Regions from separate parts of the Homo sapiens genome. Here regions 1, 2, 4, 5 and 6 are each linked to region 3. Evidence: promoter capture Hi-C in 16 types of primary human blood cells and fetal thymus (Javierre and others, 2016). All regions are on one chromosome and are shown on one strand. Each heading gives the region's core, a stretch centred on a gene start or on the middle of the fragment in contact. The rest is flanking DNA. Distances are from core to core; before and after follow the strand shown. Region 1 has its middle 4.2 kb from the start of ZNF706. Region 2 overlaps LOC107984005 (a long non-coding RNA gene). Region 3 holds the start of ANKRD46 (ankyrin repeat domain 46). Region 4 overlaps LOC107984005 (a long non-coding RNA gene). Region 5 overlaps LINC03090 (long intergenic non-protein coding RNA 3090). Region 6 holds the start of LOC124901993.

Region 1 (3,797 bases), core at 181-2,680, 650 kb after region 3:
TGATTCAGAACCACTGCCTAGAGGATATGGCATAATGGTAACTTTATGTGATGGTTAGGGAATTTGAAAAAAAAAAAAAAAAAAAGAAACAAGGAATGGATAAGATTCAACATCTGTGAAGTGACACTCAGTAAATGAAAGGCGGATGAATTAGCATTACTACCAGCTGGTGTCCTACTTATGTTATAGAAATGTGACAGCAAATGTGATATGAACTCCTTAGAAGCATTTTTATACACATTGCTGGCTTTAATTGTGAATGCTACAGTAACTCTCCTGACTGTTTTTCTTCTTCTGCCTTTAGACAATTACCCAAGGTTAAGATGCAATAAACATGTGCCTATTTTCTATCCAAAATCTCAATCAGATTAAAATGCTTCTCTAAAGACCTGAAAGGCTTATTTGTTTATTTGTATTCATGTAGGATTTGGGGGGATGAAAGAATTGGTGATTAATCAACATATTATTTTCCCAATAAACAGACTATTCTGACAAATGTTTAGTGGCAAATAATAGCAACAGCAATAATGGCAACAATAAACTTAGAACAGAAATGGATTTATTTTTATTTATTTATTTTTTACCAGCTCTTTCTCTTTCACTCGCTTCTGCATGTTGAGATTTCTCACACATGCAACCTAGATCTTCTTGTCTTCTTTATATTCTTTCTCCAAAGGAATCTCATTCACTGTTGTGCCTTTAAATAGCAAGCTTCAGGTGACCCCCACATTTCTATCTCCAAATTGACATATCCAAATGCCTACTACTCATCTCCCCTCTGATGTCTTATAGACATTCACATTTAATAGCATATTGTATTGAGTCTAAGGAGCCATTAATTGTAAGTCACATTTATGTCCACTAAGATTAAAAAATACTGCCAACTGAACTATGACAAAATGCTGATATCCTTGATTCTAAGATACATCTTGATTTCAGAGACTTTAAAAATAGGCTTAAAAAATAATGTGATTTACTAGAATAGCACCAAAAAGAATAAAATACTTAGGAATTAACTTACCAAGAGAAGTGCAAAACTTGTATTCTAAACTCTAAATAACATTGTTGAAAGAAATTAAAGACCTAAATAAATGGAAAGGTATCTTATGTTCATGGATCAGAACACTTTGTAAAGATGGCAGTAATTCCCAAGTTGATCCACAGATTCGGTGCAACCCCTATCAAAATCCTGTCTGGTATCTTTACATAAGCTTATTCTAAAATTTATATGGAAATTCAAGGAGCCCAGAATAGCCAAAACAACCTTGAAAAAAGAATAAAATTGGAAGATTCACATTTCCCAATTTAAAAACTTATTACAAAGCTATAGTAATTAAAACAGTGTGGTACTGGAATAAGATTAGACATATAAATCAATGAGGTAGGATTGAGAGTCTAAAAATAAACCTTCATATGTATAGTCAATTGATTTTCAACACAGGCACCAAACAAATTCAATGGGGCAAGGAGTCTTCAGCAAATATTACTGGGATAGCTAGATATCCACATGTAAAAGAATAAAGTTGAATCCTATCCTCATACCATATACAAAAATTAACTCAAAATGGATAGAAGACCTAAATGTAAGTGCTAAAACATAAAAGTCCTAGGAGAAAACATAGGAGTAAATATGTATGACCACGGGTTAAAAAAGCTTTTTTTTTTTTTTTTTTTTTTTTTTGAGACAGAGCCTTGCTTTGTCGCCATGCTGGGGTGCAGTGGCGCAATCTTGGCTCACTGCAACCTCCACCTCCCGGGTTCAAGAGATTCTCCTGCCTCAGCCTCCCGAGTAGCTGGGACTACAGGCACACGCCACCATGCCCAGCTAATTTTTGTATTTTTAGTAGAGATGGGGTTTCACCATGTTGGCCAGGATGGTCTTGATCTGTTGACCTCGTGATTCACCTCAGGTGATCCACCTGCATCAGCCTCCCAAAGTGCTGGGATTATAGGCATGAGCCACTGTGCCAGGCCAAAAAAGGCTTTTTAAGGTATGACATCAAAAGCATTAGTGACAAAAGAAAAAAAACAGATAAATTGAACTTCATCAAAATTAAGATACTTTGTGCTTCAAAAGATGCCATTAAAAAAAAAAAAGACCACCTACAGAATGGGAGAATATGTTTGCAAATTATATATCTGATAAATGACTTCTATCTAGAATATATAAAGAATGCTTACAACTTCATACTAAGAAAGCAAATACCCAATTAAAAAATAGGTGACGGATCTGATTAGCTACTTCTCCAAACAAGATGCCCAAATGGCTAATAAGCACATGAAAAAATGCTCACCATTCTTAGTCATCAAAGAATGCAAATCAAAATATGAGATAGTATTATACTTCACACGCACTGGGATGGCTGTAATCGAAAAGACAGATGATAACAAGTATTGGAGAGGAGGTGAAGAATTTAGAAACAGTCTGGTGGTTTTCCAAAAGATAAACATAGAGTCATCATATAACCTAACAATTCCAATCCTAGATATATATCCAAGAGCAATGAGAACATACGTTCACACAAAAGTTTGTACATTTTAAGCAGCATTATTCATAATAGCCAAAAAGTAGAAACAACCCAAATATTCAGCAGGTGATGAACTGAGAAACTGTGGTATGGCCATAAAATGAAATATTATTTGGCCATAAAAAGGAATGAGGTTCTGATACATGCCTCAACTTGGATGAACCTTGAAAACGTTATGCTAAGTGAAAGGAGGTCCTTCCTTGAGCCCCCATCTGAATGAGGAGTCCTTGTACTTTTCATCCTTTGAATTTATCATGCAATATTATGTATTGTTTCATGAAATGTTTTACATATATATGTATATATAATGTATATGTGTATATATAATGTATATGTGTATATATATAAATTTGTAGAATTTCTCCTTTCCATTTGATTCCTAAAACAATAACCTGTAACACCTGTGCTGTACTTACTATCTACCAGGCACTGTTATATATGCTTTATATATTTTGATTCATTTAACCTTCTCAACAACTCTTATGTAGCTGAGGTACAAAATGGCTAAGTTATCTAAGATTACACAGCTAGTAAGTAGAAAAGCTAAGATTTGGCTCCTGGCAGTCTTTTTCCTGAGGCTGAGCCGTGGTCCTGTGTATACTATAAGGGTGGTTCTGTATCTGTTCTTTTTATCCCTGTGTAGCCTGTATTTAGCATAGCATCTGGCATGATGTAGGTACCCAATAAATATTTGTTGAATGAATGTAAGTCTGAATGATTCCTTTAAACTCGGTTAGGAGACCTCCTAGGTATCACAGATTATGATGTACTTCCCTAAAAATAGCACTTATCTCACTGTGTTGTACTTGCCTGTTTATCCATAGAAGATGAGCTCCCTCAGGTCCTGAGTTATGTCTTGTTAACCAGCATCTAGTACAGTGCCTGGCACCTAGCAGGTAGTTAATAAGTATCTGTAAATGGATGAAATAAGAGAGTGGATTGTGAATGAAATTACAAGTATCAGTGACAATCCGTGAGGCCAGTATTTGAAAATGATTACCCCTGCCATCCAGTTAAAGATAGAGGCTTGAACACATGCATTTACCTCTACCCTTTGTTGGAATCCCACTAAAAATAATGGTAAAGGAGTTTATAAGAAAGCATAAACTCCTTTACCATTGAAGAAAAGAAAACAGAAGAGAAGAATGTAGCAGAATTTTGGAAGCTGCAAAGTAAGTAAACAAGTGGTAACTGATTTAGGAGAGAAGAGGGTTTCTGGACTGAAGGGGCAGCAAGCATGAGTGGGGGTAGCAAAACAGAGGACTAAAT
Region 2 (3,627 bases), core at 739-3,238, 690 kb after region 3:
CCGTCTCTACTAAAAATAAAAAATTAGCTGTGCGTGGTGGCTCACACCTGTAGTCCCAGCTACTTGGGAAGCTGAGGTAGGAAAGTCTCTTGAACCTTGGAAGCGGAGGTTGCAGTGAGCCGATATTTTGCCACTGCACTCCAGCCTGGGTGACAGAGTGAGACTATGTCTCAAAAAAAAAAAAATTTTGAGAGAAAAAGTATGAATATTACAAGCTCTACCCAAACTGGTCTTGATTAACATAGTTTTCTTCCATTTTCAAATAGATAACTTGGTTTTCTGGCTGGTGTTCCAATCACTGATGAGTGCATTCCAGCAGCTTTCTAACTGCTTTGTCTCTACGGCTTCCTGCTTGTTAATCCATCTTACTCTCACCATCAGTTAATGAACCAGAAGTGCTGCTTTTGTTATCTTATTTTCCTGTTATAAAAACAGTAATTCTCATTCCCCATTACTACTGAAGAGTGTCCAAGCTCTTAACAGGATATAGTAGATGGACTGAATTGATGTTGCCAGCTAAAAACCTCACTGTATCCATACCCATTGCAGTGAGATTTTTGAAAATCTCTCATCATAAGGTAGAATCTACTTCTCCCTCCCTTGAATATCAGCTTGCCTTGTGCCTCAAGAGGCCTTGCAGCTGCCACTGTGTTTCAGAACCCTCTCATGAGAATGCAAGCCTGGACTAGCCTGCTGGAGGAAGAGAAATCATGAGAGGGGAGCCTCATTGTCCCAATTGAGTCTAATCTTAGATCAGCCTTGTCTGGGGGAGGGGGAGGAGTCCTCTGGCCACCCACATGTTTGATGACTCACTAGAAGGACTCCCAGGACTCAGAGTCAGTTGTGCTCATGGTTATAGGTGATCAAAGGATACAAGACAGCATCAACAAGGGAAAAAGTCACATCAGTCTGGAGGAGTTTAAGTGCAGGCTTCCAAAGCTTTGTGTCTGGTGCAGGAGGTGGATTACACAGAACACACTTTTTCTTCCAGCAATAAAATTAAGTAACACATACACAATATTTCTGACTAGGGAAGCTGACTGGAGGCTCAGAGTCCTGGGATTTTATTGCAGAAATAGGCAGAGGATGCCTATGTGATCAGCCACAATTACTGAAATTCCAGTCCAGTGTAAATCACAGTGTTTGGATAAACATTCTAGGCAAGCTGGTGTGGTAGGATTCAGTGCCGTGGGCATGCCAAACAGCCTTATCAGTTAGGTGGTAGATAGAAGGATAGAATAAAGGCCCTTTGAAGGTGGTTAAGTTTCTATACCCAGAACCTGTTCATATGTTACCTTACATGACAAAAGGGACATTGCACATATGATTACATTAAGGATCTTGAAATGGTAAGATTTTCCTGAATTATTCAGGATTAAAGTCAGCAAGGGCAAGATAAAGGAAGTAGAGCGCAGAGATCCGCTGAAGGAGGGAGAGATTTGAAAATGCTTTGGTGCTGGTTTTGAAGATAGAGGAAGTGGTCATGTCTTAGTCCTTTTGTGTTGCCATAAGGGAATAGCTGAGGCTGCGTAATTTGCAAAGAAAAGGGGTTTATTTGGCTCACAGTTCTGCCAGCTGTACAAGAAGCATGGCACCAACATCTGCTTTTGACGAAGGCCTCAAACTGCTTCCACTCATGTCAAAAGGCAAAAGGGATCCTCTGTGTGCAAAGACTGTGTGGCAAGAGAGTAAGCAAGAGAGGAAGGGAGGTGCCAGGCTCTTTTCAATAACCAGCTCTTTTAGGAACGAATAGTGTGAGAACTCACTCATTACTCCAAATCCTACACCAAGCCTTTCATGAGGGATCTGATCCTATGACCCAAACACTTCCCAGTAGGCCCCACCTCCAACATCGGGGATCAAATTCAACATGAGGTTTGGTCCAACATCCAAACCATAGTGTGTCATGGGCCAGGGAATGCAGATGGTCTTTAGAAGTTTGAAAAGGAAGAAAATGAATTATTCTCCAGAGCCTCCAGAAGGAATGCAGTCCTTCTGATCCATTTTAGACTTCTAATCTCCAGAGCCCTAATATATAAAATATTTGTGTTGTTTTAAGCTACTAAGTTTATAGTAATTTGTTATATCAGCAATAGAAAACTAATATAAATAGTAACATAGGAAGCATTCCAAAAGCAAAGGTCCTAGAAACCAGCCAAGGGTCAGCTCTATAAGCAGGTCCTTTGGAGGAGCAACATCATCAGAACTACAATATTTAACTCTTTCCTATAAAAGCCTACAGCCAGACAATCACCAAAAATGTGAGAGGGACCAGCCAAGATCAGCAGAACAGCCTGCCTGACTGCAGAAATATGAGTGAGCCCAGTCAGGACCAAAATAACTTCAATACTGTGGGAAATAATATATCATTGTGGGCAATAATAAATGCTTTTTGTTTTAAGCCACTGAGTTTTATTGCAGTTTGTTATACAGCAATATCTAACTAATACATGGAATTCAAGGCTTTTGAGTAAACATGTAAGAGCCCAATCCATATATCATATCTTATCTCTTCTTCACAAACTTTGCTTTATTTATACTGATCTATTTAATGTCATCCAAACAATCTGTGTTCCTTCCTATCACTGTCCTTTTCTCCATGTCATCCTTGTATCTCAAGGCCTTTTCCATCCACATCTCTGCCTACTATTTCAGAATGTAATTGACAAGCATTTAGCATGCAATTTTTGTGAGCATCCAAGTTTTCAAGTCTAGTCAACTGATGCCATTTGGAATTTGGTTAGGATCATGAAGTGTGTTACTAGAATTAAACAGGCTTGTAAGTCATTGCCATCTGTAAGCTCTCAAAAGAACAAATACTTCAGAAAATACTTTCTGCACAGATGAGAAACTAGAGTTTGTGAGAGAGCTGCCAAAGTAATTTTTTATATTAGTGAGAAGGAGGCTTATTGATTATTTGAGTGCTTATAGAACTCTTATTTGTTCAGTCCCAGAGCTAAGCTGTCTGGTATACTCATTGGCACTTTGATTGTTTCTGTATTTATAAATGCTAAGAGCTTATCTGGCCCAGTGTTAGGAAGCTTGTTGTATATTTCATTGCTGTCTAAGAGTTAAAGCTAGCTGCAAAGTCTTGAAACCAGCCAGTGTTCTTAGGCAAGAACCACAAGTTGTGCTGACAATCACTAAATGGCGGGGTGGCAAATGGTCTTACTGGGTTGTAAAAATGAAATGCAACAACCTGTATTCATGGAGTGCTTACTATGTACTAAGCCTTGGGCCCAGCCATGGGCATACAGAAGTAAACAACACAGAAATAAATAACCTTTTGGAATTTATAATACAGTGTAAAAATAATAAAGTCTGGAGTAAATAATTTCTGTAAGTCAGCAATGAGATACAATGAGATACACAAGCATTTAAAGACGAAAAAAAATCTGACAATCATGATGTCATCCCAAGAATATCCCAGAATTCTTTGTGTAATGTAATGTATTCATTCCTAATTTTTGTGCCAATATTTATAATAATCTCATAGTCAACAGATATTTGTTGAGTGCTAACTATATCCTAAGCACTTTGACACCAAGGGAAACATGAAAAAATTTAACATATTCCCTGCCCTTGTGACTTTGTACATTCCAGCTAAACATTAATAGCAACAAGAAC
Region 3 (3,928 bases), core at 670-3,169:
TTTAAAACTGCACCTGTTCCTTCCTTGGTGCTTCCTATCCCCCTTTGCTACTTTATTTTTATTCCTAGTAACTGTTACCATCTGACTCCAGATACGTTAACTTTCACAAATCCCGCTTATCGTCCCCAACCCCACCTTCCTCCAGTGACATGTTAGCTCCTGGAAGACAAGGACTTCATTTTGTTCACTCTCACATCCCCCAGTGCTTAGAACAGAGCCTGGCCATAGAAGGCACTCAATATACGCTTGCTATATGAATGCCGAATATGCAAATTCTTAAATCTATAATAGGTAAGGCTAAGAAGTTTGGGACTATAAAGCCCAACTTATTTCCACAATGGGAAATACAATTTCCCTTTTGATAAAGAACTGTGAGAATCCTTTGTTTTCCATAGTAACACAATTTATATAACATGCCAAAAATTCCTTATCACTTCACATCCTCTCTCCAGTGCCTTTCCTGTATTCTGTAAAATATTAACTTACTATCATCAAAAAATCTTTGATTTCCCTCTGGTACTGCTACCATAATAATGCAAAGGCAAAGTGAACTCACTAAAAAATGGTATGGAAACATAAATAATGAAGAAATGTAATAAAGTGTGTTAACAACCAAACAAATTCATCTCTATTTCAAATCAAATTGTACTGGCACAGTGAGAACCCCAGTCCAAGTTTAACTTTATTATCACTATAGTCCTTAATGAGCTAACAGTTTTCTTACTAAACTCCTTTTAAACTAAAAAGGAGTTCATGTAGGACTCCTGCATATAACCATGAAAACTAAGCCTGAGAGAAATCAGTTCAGGCTACAAATCTAATTGATAAAACTCTTAGACAGCGCTACATGTTTGGCTAGATAACAGACGCAGGGATACTGAAGTAAGGGAGATGAGACCAAATCTCGCTCAGCCTTTGCTAGCTTTCTGACCTTGGAGAAGTCAGACTCTCGGTGCCTCAGTTTCCTTATCTGTATAATGGAAATGGTACCTGATAGGGTTGCTTCAAGGATTAAAGGTACCAGGTATTTAAAGCAATGGCACCGTGTCTGACATAAAATAAGCACTGAAAATAGCTATTACTAGAACATAAAAATAATCCCCACACCACTCATATTACAGCTCTTTAAGAGGCTCCTAGGTACCACCGTCATTTTTTAAAGATTGAGAAGCGCTACTATTCAATGGCATATTTTTACCTTATTATGTTCTGTAGCCAATTCCGAATACCGTGGAACGTTACAAAAAACAGATGTTATTTTCTTGAGGTACTGTTGGGAAAACCTCAGAGAGAACGATCTGCTTTTTAGCACTGCAAGCCAATTAAGGGAGGAAGTTTGCGATTACCCGAGCCCTAAGTGGAAGGTGTGCAAATCCTTCCTTTTAACCCGGGCACCCCGGAGCCATGTGCCATTCTGGAGAGCTCACTCACACCCCAACAGCTTGTCCCGGCGCCTGAACTGTGCGCTCCTGCAAGCACACGCCGCGAAAGCACCGTCTCGCCCCGGCCGAGCAGCTGGACCTGCGGCGTGGCTTCCGCGCTCCACCCCCCGATTAACCGCGAGCCAGGGCTGCCCGCGCTGCCCAGGGGTTCCCCGGACCACAGCCCTAACCCGCAAGCGCAAACGAGAACCCTCGCAGGCCTCTGCCCGGCCCTCGTGAACACACAGACCGCGAAGAAGCCATCACGGACCCGCGGTCGCTTCCTCGGCCCGGCTCCCTCCAGTCGCCGCGGAAGGTGTGGGAAGCCCGGGCACCCTCGCCCCTCAGGGCCCCGGCCAGGCCTACTGGACCTCCAGTGCTACAGGGACGGTGCAGGAGATATCAAGTGGCTCTAGCCCAGGCGCTGCCCACAGGCCCCGGGCCAAGTACCTGCGACTCGAACGAGCAGCAGCGACAGCGGCAGCTTCAAGGAGGCGGTGACGGGCGGAGGGGAGGGGCCAGACAGGGGTAGTCGGAGTCCCCGCTGGGCCAGAGCGGTCTCGCGCTGCAGCCCCCGGCGCGCCCCCTGCAGGTGGGCGGTCCTCACGGTGGCTCGGGCTGCTCTGAGTCAGAGACTCCGGGAAAGCCTGCTCTGAATTAGGGAAAGCATCAAAACTGTGGCTTCAGAAGAGAAAGACAGCCTAGAAGAGGTTTATCCGATCTGAGTCCGGGAGCATTTTGCACTTTTCACGTCCTATTCTAAATTCACATCCCATCCCCTTAGCTAAATGGGGGCTTCAAAGGCAAGGGCAGTTTCATTAGGTGCTATAAGCATCAATTAATAGTTGCTGGCCTCTAGGTAGGTCTTCTATAGACCCGAAATTGACATATTAGGAATAGCCACTAATGATTGGCTGCACTATTTCTAAAATATAACCCTGCATTTTTACTTTTTTCAAAAGCAGTTTGAATCTTTTTTTTTTTTTTTTTTTTTAGACGGAGTCTCACTCTGTCGCCCAGGCTGGAGTGCAGTTGCTCAACCTCGGCTCACTGCAAACTCCAACTCCGCCTTCCGGGTTCAAGCGATTCGCAGTTTGAATCCTTCCATCCTACTTTGTAGGGTTCCTTGACTTATTGCAACATGTACAGCCAAGACTAACTAAAAGTGTGGTGGGACATTCATATGCTGGAAACATTCTTTCATGCAAAACTAGTTTTTTCTTTTTTTCATTTTACCAACTCCAGTCCTACAGCCAAGACAACTCTCACTGCACAGTGACCGTCCTCTGAATTCTAGCACCCTCATCCAACCAAGCCACGCTCTATGGCAAACTTGTCCAACCCCTGGCCCACACCTGCAGGCTGCATGCAGCCAAGACAGTTTAGAATGCAGCCCAACACAAATTAATAAACTCTCTTAAAACATTATGAGTTTTTTTTTTTTTGCAATTTTTTTTTAGCTCATCAACAATTGCTGGTGTTAGTGTATTTTATGTGTGGCCCAAGACAATTCTTCTTCCAATGTGGCCCAGGGAAGCCAAAAGATTGGACACCCCTGCTCTAGGGTATCTCATGGTTCATTCATTCAAGGACCACCTACACCATCTAATAATTTGTTCTTGAAAGTGTCATGTAAAGGTTTAGGACTATTGTCATATTAGAGGAAATCACTATTACATTTCTTTCATGTAAGAATTATAAGATCTGGCCATGCACGGTGGCTCACACCTGTAATCCCAGCACTTTGGGATGCTGGGGTGGACAGATCACTTGAGGTCAGGAGTTCGAGACCAGCCGGACCAACATGGTGAAACCTTGGCTCTACAAAAATACAAAAATTAGCCAGGCACGGTGTTGCACACCTGTAATCCCAGCTACTCAGGAGGCTGAGGCACAAGAATCCTTGAACCCCAAAAGGCGGAGGTCACAATGAGCCGAGATCTCACCACTGCACTCCAGCCTGGGTGACAGAACAAGACTCCATCTCAAAAAAAAAAAAGTTATAAGATCTTAGGGCATTTCACATTTTATTGTGCTATGACTAATCAGCAATATTACTTGTTAAATTGATGACATTTATTAATCAGTTTGTTATTGATGTCCTCCTTCTGGTTGTGTATTGAGTTTATAATATCTTCACTGATGCCTATAAACTATGACAAATTAGCAAGGAAATTAAAGCTTTTCCCAATGTATTAATAAGATTTACTCTTCATTAGTTGACTCATCCAACAATCTGAGAGCCTCTCCATTACTTCTATTCAAATTTATCTCTTCCTCTTCATGAATTACTGCTTTTGATTGATATGAAAAAATGTAGGGATGGTGAAGACAGCTTTTTTCTCTGATGAGATTAAAGTGAACTGCATGCTGCACATATTCTATGGCTCCTTCATGTTACCACACCTGGGCACTTTGACACAGTGGCTGTTAGGAGCTGATATGGTTTGGCTGTGTCCCTGCCCAAAATCTCATCTTGAATTATAATAATACCCATATGTCAAGGG
Region 4 (4,068 bases), core at 250-2,749, 730 kb after region 3:
GAGCAAAAGAATGGGAGTCCCTCTCAAAAAAACAAAAAAGCCAGAAATACATATTTTTAAAAAAATATAAAATATTCCAATTTTTTAAAGGCTGACAGCCAACCAATAACAAACAGACAATACTGCAAAAACCCAAATGGAATATATCTGGGGGCTGCATTTGGCCCACAAGTCACCCATTTGCAACCTCTGGAAAAGCCTTCCTGAATTGACGCCTAAAGCCATGTTTGTGGTCTCCCCTTAGCAAACTTAGAGGATGCATGGGGTGTATTTTTGATACTTGATCATATTTCAGGGTTCATTTTATGTAGCCTTGTGTTTCCTTTGCTTCTTCATCATCATTTAATTCTATTAAATGTTATCTCATCCAACTGCATGTATCACCAAAGATGCCTTTTTGGAATAAGAAAGATAAATGAATTTCTTAACTGCAACATACTTGACCTCCCTGTTCTCCCAGGTCCCCACACTGGGCTAGTCTTTAGCTGAGTGCTGATGAGTCTAAGACGATCATGGTAATTCCTTCCCAGGGATTGGTTTTGGCATGCTCATGTGACACAACTCTAACCAATGACATGTAAGAGAAAGTATGGGGGAGGAGTGTACGTTGGAAAAGTTTTTTTAATGAAAAAGCTCTTGGACTCTTTAAACCATTGTGAGTCCCAGAGCTGACAGCCCTGGGACTTCCTCCTTCTCCTGGTTAAGTGAGATAACTAGTTTTTCTTATTATTCAAGCGACTTTTATTCAGGTTTTTCTGTTTGTAGCCAAAGCATCTGAGTTGATATAAAAAGGAAATTTCTAGGTCGTTAGCCATGCTCAGCTCACAAGATCAGATAATTTACCTATTCAGAGGGGATAGGCTGACTGCTCCTCAAGGGCCACCCTATTGAGAAGACCAAACTGTAGATTTCCATCTCTGCTGCTATTGCGGGTGGGTTGCGGGAGGCTGCAGGCACATTCCCTCCATAGCATTTACTGATTGCCTGCGTGAAGAATCCTTAATTCCAGTAAGCATGGTGAATGTGAGCAGAAGGAACTAGGTGTATTTTTAAGGACAGCCTCATGGAGTTCTAGAGATGAAAGCTGAAGGAATTTTCCTGAAAAGGACTGGGTAAGTGCATTTTCTTCTCACAACTAGTTAGAGTTCCTAAACTGTTAGGATGATGCCAGGTTTTGTTGATTTTTTTTTCTTTTCTTTTTTCTTTTTTGAGATGGAGTTTCACTTTTGTCGTCCAGGCTGGAGTACAGTGGCATGATCTTGGCTCACTGCAACCTCTGTCTCCTGAGTTCAAGCCATTCTCCTGCCTCAGCCTCCCAAGTAGTGGGGATTACAGGTGTGTGCCACCACACCCAACAAATGTTTCTATTTTTAGTAGAGACGGGATTTCACCACGTTGGCCAGGCTGATCTTGAACTCCTGACCTTGAGGGATCCGCCTGCCTCTGCCTCCCAAAGTGCTGGGATTATAGGCGTGAGCCACTGCACCCAGCCGATTTTTTTTCTTATATCAAATATTTGAACCATGTTTAGCTCTCACTTTTCTGCAATAAGCTACGAAATGTGATTTGTGACACCTAGAGATGCACCAAGGGCTCAATAACCCACGAGCCCCCCTAAATGCATGGATAGGACCAGCCTGAGGCAAAGCTGTGATATGGGCCCTCCCATCCCACAGTGTCAGTGGACCCAGATGGGTCACCCTCTGGTCTGGGAGTCCTCTCCCTACCTCTGGAAGAAATGTTGGGTTTCTTCCAACATTTGCCATTTCCTGAGCCCATCAAAGCTACAGAAAGTCCTGCTAGTAATAAAGAGGATGGTGATAGTAGTATGAGCCACAGCAGTAGTAGTAAAGCCTAACCACACCGAGACCTTGTATGTGTTAGACACTTTAAGTACTCTATCTATAGTAACTCATTTAACTCACAAAAACCTGGAAGGTAAGTTATCCTCATTTGACAGATGAGAGAGCTGGAGCCAAAGTCACATAGCTAGTTGGTGGCAAAGTTGGGATTCAAAGCCAGGCAGTCTCATTCTGGGCCTTGTGCCAGATGAATGTGCCACTGTCCTCTCAAGTGTTAAGTGATTACTCCTGGGGATGGGGAGAGGGGTAGGGGGACTTTTTAAACATTTTTAAACATGCACTAATTTTAGCTGACTTAAAAATGTTAGACATGACAGCCAGCACACACTCTTGGAAGTTCGTGTCTAGAGACTGCACCTTAACATCTGCTATGATAGCACTCATAGCCCATCTTCCCACATGGCTTCTGAAAAACCACTACCATTGTTTCCATTGATGAGACCCAGGAAGAGAGGAAATCGAGGATGGATTTTATGGTTACAGTTTGGGGGCCTTTATGTGGTTCCTGGACAACCTTGGCTAGAACACCCCCGGCTTTAGGGGGATGGTAGTGGAGAATTAGTCAAGTAAAGACATATGAAATCTGGAATTATGCAATTTCTAATTCTTGGGCAGGGTGTTTATCTTGGCTCTTAGACTGCAGAGTTCATAACTCAAGAGTACAGCTACTGATATATTTTTACAAAGTGATTATCTGATTTTCTTGGTTTCGATGTCTTTCATCAGTTAGGTGTCAATGGCTACCTATGCTCTGGTTACTATGGTTGCATAACAATTACCTCCCCCCGCATCCCCATTCCCAAACATAGTGGCATAAAACAGCCATGTATTAGGCTCACACATTCTGTGGGTCAGGAATTTGATCAGGGCAGAGGAATTCTATGGAGCAGAGACAAGAGGATGGCTGGCTTGACTCTACTCCACAGTGTCTGGGGCCTCAGCTGAAAGCCCTGAAGACTGCAGGCTAGAATCTTCTGAAGGTTTGTCCATTCACATGTCTGGTGGTGGATGCTGGCTGTTGGCTGAGGTCATCAGTCCCTCCCCATGTGGCCTCTCCACTTGGACTTGTTTGGACTTTGTCGCTGCATGTTGGCTGGAAAGCGAGCACTGGGAGGGCTTGGAGGGGGAGGAGAGGTGGAAAGCAATGCAAGCAGTGGATGGAGGCTCTGACCTTTTTGGGATCTAGCCTCTGAAGTCACAGAGCATCAGTCACTTCCACCATTCTTCAGTGACTTGAGCAGCCATAGGCTTGTCCCTAGATTCAAGTGGAGGAAAAACAGATGCCACCTCTCAGTGGGTGGGCACCAGTCACATTATAGGAAGAGCTTGTGGAATGAAATAGTAATCTCCATCTTTGGAAAATGCAATCTACCCCTCATAGGATGGTGGCATCAGTGGCAATAATGGCAGCAGCTGCAGAATAAGCCTTAACTGTGCTTCCCACATGTACCAGAGAGACCCCCCACCCCCTCCATTATAGTTTAGAAAAGACTCCTCACGCTAGTTTCGACAGTTACCTACCCTATATCCCATTCCATACAGCCTTGTTTGGAGCCAGTTAATTGGAGAAACTCATCTCTGTTAATGGGTGCTAATGGGTTACTCATCCCATGAGGCCTAACTATAGGTAATGGGGATCTGCCTTCTGGAGACAGGATTACTTATCCTAGGTGACTTAACAATGGCCCTAGAAGAAGGGAGTGGGTACAAATGGCTCTCTTTTGGTGCCACTCAGCTCACATTGTGTGGGCAGACACCTGGCTCCAAACTGCAAGCCAGGATCCATATGACAGCTCAATTAATGCAAGATTGCTGGGTGCAGCTATCCACTACAAGATAAGCTTAGATGAGTCATTTATTTCCTGGTTCAAAAATGTCCCTTTTGACCTGGAAAACTGATGTTAAAAAATTGTGTTTAACTGGTAGAACTAAAATGATTTTTATTCTCTGCTTTTCTCTATTTTCTAATTTTTTCATGAGTAATATTATCCTTACAATACAAGTAAAATAATTGTTTTTTAAAATTTTTCATCAGGAAGGAAAGCAGGAGAGAGACCTGGGCCCTGACCTTCCTTCGTCACCATCAGCTTGTGACATCTTCTCAGGCCAGCCCTAGCCAACTCTGTGACTGTTTCCACAGGTGTCGATGTTGGCATCATGTCTAACTTCTGCTGCTTCCCAAGGTCGCCATGATCATCTCATTAGT
Region 5 (4,084 bases), core at 1,400-3,899, 580 kb after region 3:
GACGCACACAGCTTTTTTGATACCCGGAAGTGAGACAAACTCATAAGATGGGGTAAGGATTTGCATTCACAAATGGTGGAGGGGTCAGTGCGGATACTGCTGGTGGAAAGAATGTCTATAGCCTCAGTAATTTTGGGAAGCTATGTGCAAGGCAGCCCGGGCCAATAAAGGTTTGTGGAACAGCTGGAAAAACACAGAGCTTTCAAAGAACACCAAGGAGGATGCTGCGGCTTCACGCAGAAATCAGATCTGGAAATGTAATGCACACGAAGAGTATGACCCCAGCAGTGACCGTTGCTGTGGCAGGTGGCTTCCTGCCCAGCTGGAGGGAGGAGGGTTGCTGGGGGGAAGTGTGGTAAATCTTTTCCTGTGCTGCGGGCCCTTGTCCTCCAGGCGGCACGGGCCTGGGGTGTTCCTCCCTCTAGTGGTAAGCAAAGCTCCTTCGGGGGCCCTTTTTCGCTTTGTCTGAAACTATGCAAAGAGTGAACAAAACAGGAAGAGGCCTATCAGGTGTCTACGTAAGAACCAACCAAAAGATCAAGACTCCTTCCCACTCCAAGCTGCTGGCGGTAGTGCACAGAATGGCAAAGGCCCTCTGTGATCCTCTAGCGGCAGTGTCTCCCCAGCTTGCCCGTCGGCCCTCCATGGTGCTGCAGCAGTGGCTTTAGCCAGTTGGGAAACCCAGAGATCCAAATTAACTGCTCAGTGTGCAGCCAGAGTCTTGTGAAACCTACAGTAAGCTGAATTCAGAAAATGTGCGATGACATGACAAGGCCACAGAGACAGAGCGAAGGGAACAGGCTCCTTGGGGACACGGATATGCTCCACAGGGGCCACTTGCTTCCACTGGGAATTATGTTAATCCTGTGCGGGTATTTACTGTGGCTTCTCTCCTCAAATGCACTTCCCTCCAACTGATCAAAAAGTCCCCACTTTCTGGAGGGTTGGGAATGTGTTTTATTGTTCTCAATAATATCCAGTTTTGGATGTGAGGGCGATCTGGCTGAGACATCTGTCACCCCATTGATTGCCAGGGTTGATTCAGCTGCTCTGGCTGGCTAGGCGGGTGTCTCCTTCCTCCCTTGCTGCTCCATGTGCACCCTCCCGAAGCCGCACGCTCAGTGGAAGAGGACGACCATCTCCGATAGAGGACGACTGGTCTTCGGTTAAGGGTATAGACTAGCTGCGCTCCCCTGCTAGAACCTCCAGACAAGCTCTTGATAATATCCAGTCTTAAAGAAGGATCTGTTACATGTGCTTCAGAACAAGTGGATTAAGTACAATTGAAGATTCCATGTATAATTTCAATCATCTTTTAGTTAAAAAAAAATTTAACTGAAAGCATTTCCGTAAGAGCTACTCCAACCTGGAGATCACCAAGTAAAACGGAGGAGAAGGGCCAAAAGTTTGAGAAAATGGATTTCAGTTTGAGCTGAAATACTAAGTAAAGTCCTACCTAAAGTTGACTTTATCCCCAAGTGAAATGGAGAGAAATCAAGAGGGTAACATATGAGATCAGTCAACCGTGGGCATGACAGGGAGTCAGTGAGTAAGCAGTTTTAGAGAATCAACAGCCTGCAATTCCATCAAGATAGTTGAGAGACAGACCCAGGAATCATCCTAGCAAAGCGACAGCCTCCGTCACTTGCAGTGGCTAAAAGATGTGAAGACAAGACACCATCAAGCCCAAATCTTATTGGTTACAAAAATGGCTGAATCTAATAATGCTGACAACACATTATATCAACCAAGGTGAAGTCTAAGTAGTTTTACTTTATTTAGATGATGTATCTGGATTTTTCCTGTTCAATTTTCTTAGATCTTTGAAGGAATTGCCCTGTGTCCATTCCAAGTATTTCTGGTGAGTCATCAAGTTTCCTGGCTGCAGGAGTGGGTTCATTCCCCCATGCCCCAGCAACAGTGATCAGAATAAAAAGGGTGAATGCAAGATCTAATAGGCCAAATCCATTTATATACGGATGGTGGGATGAAAACACTTTTTTTTTGTTGTTTGTTTTTTCTATCGAGATTTTTATAATGGAAGGATATACATCTGAGGCTGTGGTGGGAAGAGCTTTCTGTAGCATGAAAGGAAGAAAAGAGAAGCAGAGAGGAGAGGCAGACAGAGATTCAACAGCAGTGGTTTCCAACCTTGGCTAAACATTGGAATCAACTGCGGAGCTTGAAAAAATACTGGTGCCTGGATCCCAGCCCCAGAAATTTTCATTTGGTTGGTTTTCGGTGCTGCCTAGGCCTTGGGACTTTTAAAAGCTTTCTTGGTGATTCTTACAAGCAGCTGAGGATAGAAACCACTTGTCTTGAAGCACCAGGTCACATTTGAGCCCGGGGCACAAATTCCAGCTGTTCTTTCTTGTTCTGTAACCCATCTTGGTATCCTCAGTTGTCAATAACTTCTCTCTCTCTCTCTTTTTTTTTTTTTTTTTTTTGCTTAATTTAGTTTGAGTTGAATTTCTGTTATATGCGGCCAAAAGAAGTCTAACTAAGAAACTAAAAATACTCTGTAATCATAGCTAACATTGATTCAGCCTCAGTGATGTGCAAGGCACTGTTTGAAGTGCTTACTTGCAGTAACTTGTTTAATTTAATTCTTACAGCATCCCTATAATTTGAAAGCCATTATTGTCCCTATTTTACAGGTGAGGAAATGAGACATCAAAAGATTAAGTGACTTGCTAAAATTTACACTGCCTACGAAAGCTGACCTGGAATGTGAACCAGAAATTGTCCTTAACCAAATCACCTCACTGTCTCTCAAGGTAAAACCAAGTAAGGAGGCAGATTCTCTGCATTAAACCCCAAAATGGAGTCTTCAAATAGCCATAATATAAGTGCTGTATAAAAATAATTTAAATTTTTTTCTCTTTTATAGAGATGGGGTCTCACTACATTGCCCAGGCTGGCTCTCAAATTCCTGGCCTCAAACGATCCTCTTGCCTTGGCCTCCCAATATGCTGGGATTACAGGCATGAGCCAACACACCCAGCTGTGAGTATTTTTTATCAGGAAGAAGCTTTTGGCTGTAAGAACAGAAAGTTCCAACTCTACCAACTTGCACGCTTATTTAATATCTGGAGGTGGGGCAGTTCCGGGACTGGCTGTTGCAGTAGCTCATTTGAAGCCATCTGGTCTCCAGCTTCCTTCCCCCTTTCTGCTCTGCCCTGCCCAGTGTGCTGGCCTCTTTCTCAGGCTGGTTGCCCCCAGCTAGCAAGGGGGCTGCAGACCCCAAACATCGCATTCTCATGCAACAACCATAGGCAGAGAAAGGTGCTGTTTATTCACCTGTGTCTCTTCTTACCAGGTATTAAAGAAACACCTTGTGCTAAAGGCCTCCAGTGGAATTCCCCTTGTGTTTCATTATGGGAAAGGGGGAATGGGAGCACCAGGATTCACTTGGGTCCATGGGGCATTGTGAAAATGTGAAGGGGGTCATTTTTGGCTGGCACAATAATTCAAGGAGGGCTATGACCATGCAGTGGGCAGAGGCTAGAGATGGTAGACAACCTGCGATGTGTGGGATGGTCATGGTCACACTCTGTGACCTGCATGATTTTTGAATGTCCCATTGAACATTTGCACAAATGAAAAATCTTCAAAGTGATCTGAGCTAAAACCAAACTCTCATATATAAACCCAAAGTATTTAAAAAACACACTGTATTTTCCAGGAAAGCAATTGCTGTGCACATCGAGAGAAGATCTTGCTTTGTTTTGTTTAGAACTTTTCCAGGAGTTGTTCACTGTTTTGGAAAATCACATTAGCAATGTCAACATTACTCATGGAATTCGAGCCTCCAGTACAATACACCCGATGGGCCTGCCCCAGTGGCTGCCACATTGACTGTGATTCTAGGTATGGATCCAGGCACCTGCAATGTTATTTCTTTTAGCACAGTTCTGCCAAGAATTTGCATGTTGAAATACATGTTGTTTTATTGTACATTATTTCTCTTTTAATTCCACTTCATAATAGTTATTTGATTTTTAAAATTATGTGTACAGATAGTTTATGTTGTATACAAATTTCATTTCAGTGTAGTAAAAGGGACATTATAAAATATTTGTAG
Region 6 (4,104 bases), core at 331-2,830, 750 kb after region 3:
GTTTATTACATGTAAATGTAATTGTTATTACAAGTAACGACGTGTAAATGTAATTGTAGTTACAAGGTCATTTTATATTGTCTTACAGGTCACTGATACTCAGTTCTTATTTTTTTTGTTTGTTTGTTTTTTGAGACAGGGTCTTGTTCTGTCACCCAGGCTACAGCACAGTGGCCCAGTCAGGGCGTACTGCAGCCTTGACCTCCCGGACTCAATCAATCCACTTGCCTCAGCCTCCTGAGTAGCTGGGACTACAGGCACACATCACCACACCCAGCTAATTTTTGTATTTTATTTTTTGAAGAGATGAGGTTTTGCTATGTTGCCCAGGCTGGTTTCCAACTCCTGGGCTCAAGTGATCTGCCTGCCTTGGCCTCCAAAGTGCTGAGATTATAGGCCTGAGCCACTGTGCCCAGTTCTTACATACTTTTTAAAATCGTATTTCTCTCTGGGTTTCATTTTGTGTAATTTCTATTGTTCTGTCTTTAAAGACACTAGTATTTACTTCTCCAGTGTCTAATCTGCTATTAATCCAAGCCAGTGTTTTTTCTTTTCTGATAATGTATTTTTCATCTATAAGAAGTTCTATTTATGTCCTTTATGTGTATTTAATTTCTCTCCTTATGATGTTCAGATTTTCCTCTAACTTTTTGAACATATGAAGTATATTTATAATATCTCATTTAACACCCGTGTATGCTAATTTAATTCTATGTCTGTTTCATTTGATTGTTTTTTCCTTCTGTCTATGGGTTGTATTTTCCTGCTTCTTTTCATGCCTGATAATTTTTGGCTGGGTGCTAGACAATGATAATTTTACATTGTTAAATGCTCAGTATTTTTAAACTATTATTTAAATATTGCTGGGCTCTGTTCTGAGATGCAGTTACTTGGAAATAGTTTGAACGTTTCAAGTCTTGCTTTTAAGCTTTGTTAGGAAGGGGAGTTCAGAACAATCTTTAGGACTTCTTGATTTATTTGGTCCCACTATGAAGCAATACCCTTCTTATGGGTACAATGCTCTATGTATCTGGAGGTTTTTCCACTCAGGCTAGTGCATATAAACTATTCTAGTCTCTGTGAGCTGTTGGAATTGTTCCACCTACATCTTTTCAGTGATTCTTTCCCCATTCTCAGTGGTCTCCTTCCCTGCATATAGAGATCAGTACAGCACAACCATACATACAAGGGGATCCCTCTGAAGAACGTCGGCCTGTTCTTTCTCTCTCTCACTCCTTGTTTTGAGGGAAAACCCTGTTTTTTTCTTTCTACTCTCTTGCACAGTCACTCAACACTGTATTTCTGACATCAGATGTATGGGGATTTCTCCCCATACATCAAGCAATTATCCAGTAGACATCAACTAAGTGTCCAATAATTCAATTCAATTCTGACACTATGTACCTGGAGATAGTATCAAATCCCACAGGTGAAGAGCTTAGTCCCAGAAGACTGCTGGTCCCTGCCCCCACTTCAGATGCCAGTAGCAAACCCCAGGTTGTGACCTGTGCTTCCAACTGACTGGCTATAGATCAGGGTTCCCATGACCCCCTCTTTGGGTTCAATTAATTTGCTACAGTGGCTCAACAGAACTCAGAGAAACACTTCACTTACATTTACACATTTATTATAAAGAATATTACAAGGCCAGGCGTGGTGGCTCATGCCTGTAATCCCAGCACTTTGAGAGGCCAAGGCAGGCGGATCACGAGGTCAAGAGATCGAGACCATCCTGGCCAACATGGTGAAACCCCGTCTCTACTAAAACTACAAAAATTAGCTGGGCGTGGTGGCATGTGCCTGTAGTCCCAGCTACTCAGGAGGCTGAGGCAGGAGAATTGCTTGAACCTGGGAGGCAGAGGTTGCAGTGAGCCAAGATTGCGCCACTGCACTCCAGCCTGGGGACAGAGTGAGATTCCTCAAAAAAAACCCCCAAAAACAAAGAATATTACAAAGGATACAGACAAATGACAGATGGAAGAGATGCACGAGACAAAATATGGAGGAAGGGGAGTGCCACCCTCCGGGCACCTCCATGTGTTCAGCAATCCGGAAGCTCTCCAAATTCCATCATTGTGAGTTTTTATGGAGGTTTCATTACATAGGCATGATTGATTCCCTCATTGGCTATTGGTGATCAACTCAACCTCCAGCCTCTTCACTCTCCCCAGAGGTTGGGGGATGGAACTGAAAGTTTCAACCCTCTGTTTACATGGTTGGTTTCCCTAGCAACAAGCTTCCATCCTCAGGCTATCCAGGAGCCCACCAAGAATCGCCTAATCAGAACAAAAGTTGCTTCTACCACTCCGGAAATTCCAAGGGATTTAGGAGCTCTATGTCAGACATTCTTATCACTTAGGAAACTGCAAAGGTCGCAGGAGCTCTAGGTCGGGAACTGGGGTCAAAGACCAAATTTTAGAACAAAAGACTCTCCTAGCACCACCATCTACAAGGGTTTCAGCAGCACTATGTCAGGAACTGGAGGCAGAGATCAAATATATATATTTCTTGTTATCCCATAATGTCACACTGTTATTTTTCCTACAAATTTTAGTCACCTTTGTCTCTCTTTACTAGGAATTGAGTTTCTTCAACTCAGGGGACCACGGGGCTCTGTCTGGGGCCACCTTTCTTACCCTGTAGCCTGTAAACTTGCTCCAAGTCCTGAGCTAAGGCACTCATAGGACACACCTTGTTTGTTTTCCTTTTCTCAGTGATCACCTATATGGCCAGGTTTCAGTGTCTGAAGAACATTGTTTCATATCGTTCGTCCATTTTTTCAGTTGGTTAAGATAGGAAGGTAATTCTGGTCCCTAGCTGAAAGCAGAAATCCTGTATTTTGTCATTTGTATTAAACCTGGTAACGTGCTGGGTACCTGAAGTACACGGCCCAGCACCTGGCACTGGAATAGCGATCAGCTCCTTTACTCCTCCTCATTGTGAAATGGCACAGGAGCCCCGTCATTTGACATGGTACCAGAAATGATTAGTTAGAAGACCATTCAGGAACTGTGCATGAAATATATAACTCAATTACAAAATATATAACTAACTCAATCACAAAATATAAAACTCAGTGGGTGTATTGAGCACCCATTGATGGCAGGTGCTGTTCTAAAGCAAAATTTTTGCCAACAGCAGCGATTTCAGGGCTGTTGGCATTCTTTATCTCCTGAGACTCTCCTTAGATTTCCTTATGAGAAACCGAGGTTTGACGATGAAGTAGGGTACTTCCTGGTGAGATTTACTGCTAAAGACTTTGCCAGAGGAGATTTCTTCTAATGATCAGGCCCCTCAGTAAAATGTATCTTCTATATTTCTAATTATAATTGACCAAGGAAAAAAGTCCAAATCAATTTTTATGGACAGTGAAGCCTCCACTGTCCTAAGTTGGTGTCTGCCTTTTCTGTCTCCCTGAATTCTACCTCCCTCCCAGAATGCCTGGTTCAGTCTGTGTGCTCCCGGGGGGTGATGGATAACACTGTTAAACACTCTGTGCTTCAGTTTCCTGCTATATAAAGCGAGGACAGTGATAGGACGGATTTCATGGGGTCGTTGGGAGAATTCAGTGACTTACTAAGTGTGAAGAACTAAGGACTGCAGCTGGCACGCAGTAAGCCTTCAACTAATGTTGCTATGATTACTGTTATTGTCATTATTGCTGCATTGTTGTTTTGTTAATTGTTATTTTTATGTTATATAGTGAGAGCAGGATGCACTGAAATGGCTTCTTATTTTTACTAGGCTGTGATGTTCTCGAGGGCAGGGTCTGGACTTTATCACCGTCTCCACCCCATCCATGGAAGCAGTGTGGTGTGATAGTTAAAGGCCAGCTTTGCCTATAAAGAGCCAGATAGTAAATATTTTAGGCTTTGTGGGCCATATGGTCTCTCTGTCCTTATAGCACAAAGACAGCCATAGATAATATGAACAGGTATAGCTATATTCCAGTAAAGTTGTGTTTATAAAAACAGGTAGTGCAATGGAGTTGGTCCATGGGCCATACTTTGCAGACTGCTGCTTAAAAGTGCCGCTCTGGAACCGAACTACCTGGGTTTAAATCCCAGCTCTGTTGCTTTGTGACTTAGAGTTACTCAATCTCTC

What was found. Contacts are between HindIII fragments. The CHiCAGO score rates a contact against its expected background, and 5 or more counts as called.
Region 1: a contact is called between a fragment that was not itself captured here and the fragment with the promoter of ANKRD46 in region 3, in 1 of 17 cell types (naive CD4 T cells). The highest score is 7.1, in naive CD4 T cells.
Region 2: a fragment that was not itself captured here is called in contact with the fragment with the promoter of ANKRD46 in region 3 in 1 of 17 cell types (naive CD4 T cells); the score reaches 5.4 in naive CD4 T cells.
Region 4: a contact is called between a fragment that was not itself captured here and the fragment with the promoter of ANKRD46 in region 3, in 4 of 17 cell types (naive CD8 T cells, naive B cells, naive CD4 T cells and 1 more). The highest score is 8.1, in naive CD8 T cells.
Region 5: a fragment that was not itself captured here is called in contact with the fragment with the promoter of ANKRD46 in region 3 in 4 of 17 cell types (naive CD4 T cells, naive CD8 T cells, total CD8 T cells and 1 more); the score reaches 7.1 in naive CD4 T cells.
Region 6: a fragment that was not itself captured here is called in contact with the fragment with the promoter of ANKRD46 in region 3 in 7 of 17 cell types (total B cells, naive B cells, total CD8 T cells and 4 more); the score reaches 10.3 in total B cells.

The regions. Positions count from the first base shown.
Region 1 is chr8:101,208,001-101,211,797 of GRCh38, forward strand. No RefSeq gene overlaps it. Among named protein-coding and RNA genes, the nearest start is that of ZNF706, 4.2 kb to the left of the region's middle. The HindIII fragment of the contact is 443 bases long and covers 1,210-1,652 here.
Region 2 is chr8:101,244,844-101,248,470 of GRCh38, forward strand. The region is part of intron 1 of LOC107984005 (a long non-coding RNA gene); the gene reads left to right. Among named protein-coding and RNA genes, the nearest start is that of LINC02844, 16 kb to the right of the region's middle. The HindIII fragment of the contact is 2,102 bases long and covers 938-3,039 here.
Region 3 is chr8:100,557,840-100,561,767 of GRCh38, forward strand. ANKRD46 (ankyrin repeat domain 46) reads right to left here and starts at 1,920. Exons shown (of 5, transcript NM_001270377.2): 1 at 1,872-1,920. RefSeq lists enhancers at 1,822-2,116, 2,084-2,223 and a silencer at 1,914-2,083. The HindIII fragment of the contact is 4,322 bases long and covers 1-3,600 here.
Region 4 is chr8:101,289,348-101,293,415 of GRCh38, forward strand. LOC107984005 (a long non-coding RNA gene) reads left to right here. Exons shown (of 5, transcript XR_928468.3): 5 at 3,898-4,068. Among named protein-coding and RNA genes, the nearest start is that of LINC02844, 28 kb to the left of the region's middle. The HindIII fragment of the contact is 4,404 bases long and covers 1-3,701 here.
Region 5 is chr8:101,136,975-101,141,058 of GRCh38, forward strand. It overlaps LINC03090 (long intergenic non-protein coding RNA 3090), which reads left to right. Exons shown (of 7, transcript XR_928462.3): 5 at 1-52; 6 at 2,658-2,777; 7 at 2,891-3,349. It also overlaps the pseudogene RN7SKP249. Among named protein-coding and RNA genes, the nearest start is that of LINC03090, 11 kb to the left of the region's middle. RefSeq lists enhancers at 14-609, 143-262, 307-601. The HindIII fragment of the contact is 760 bases long and covers 2,270-3,029 here.
Region 6 is chr8:101,308,733-101,312,836 of GRCh38, forward strand. It overlaps LOC124901993, which reads left to right and starts at 3,392. Exons shown (of 6, transcript XM_047422526.1): 1 at 3,392-3,613. The HindIII fragment of the contact is 1,308 bases long and covers 927-2,234 here.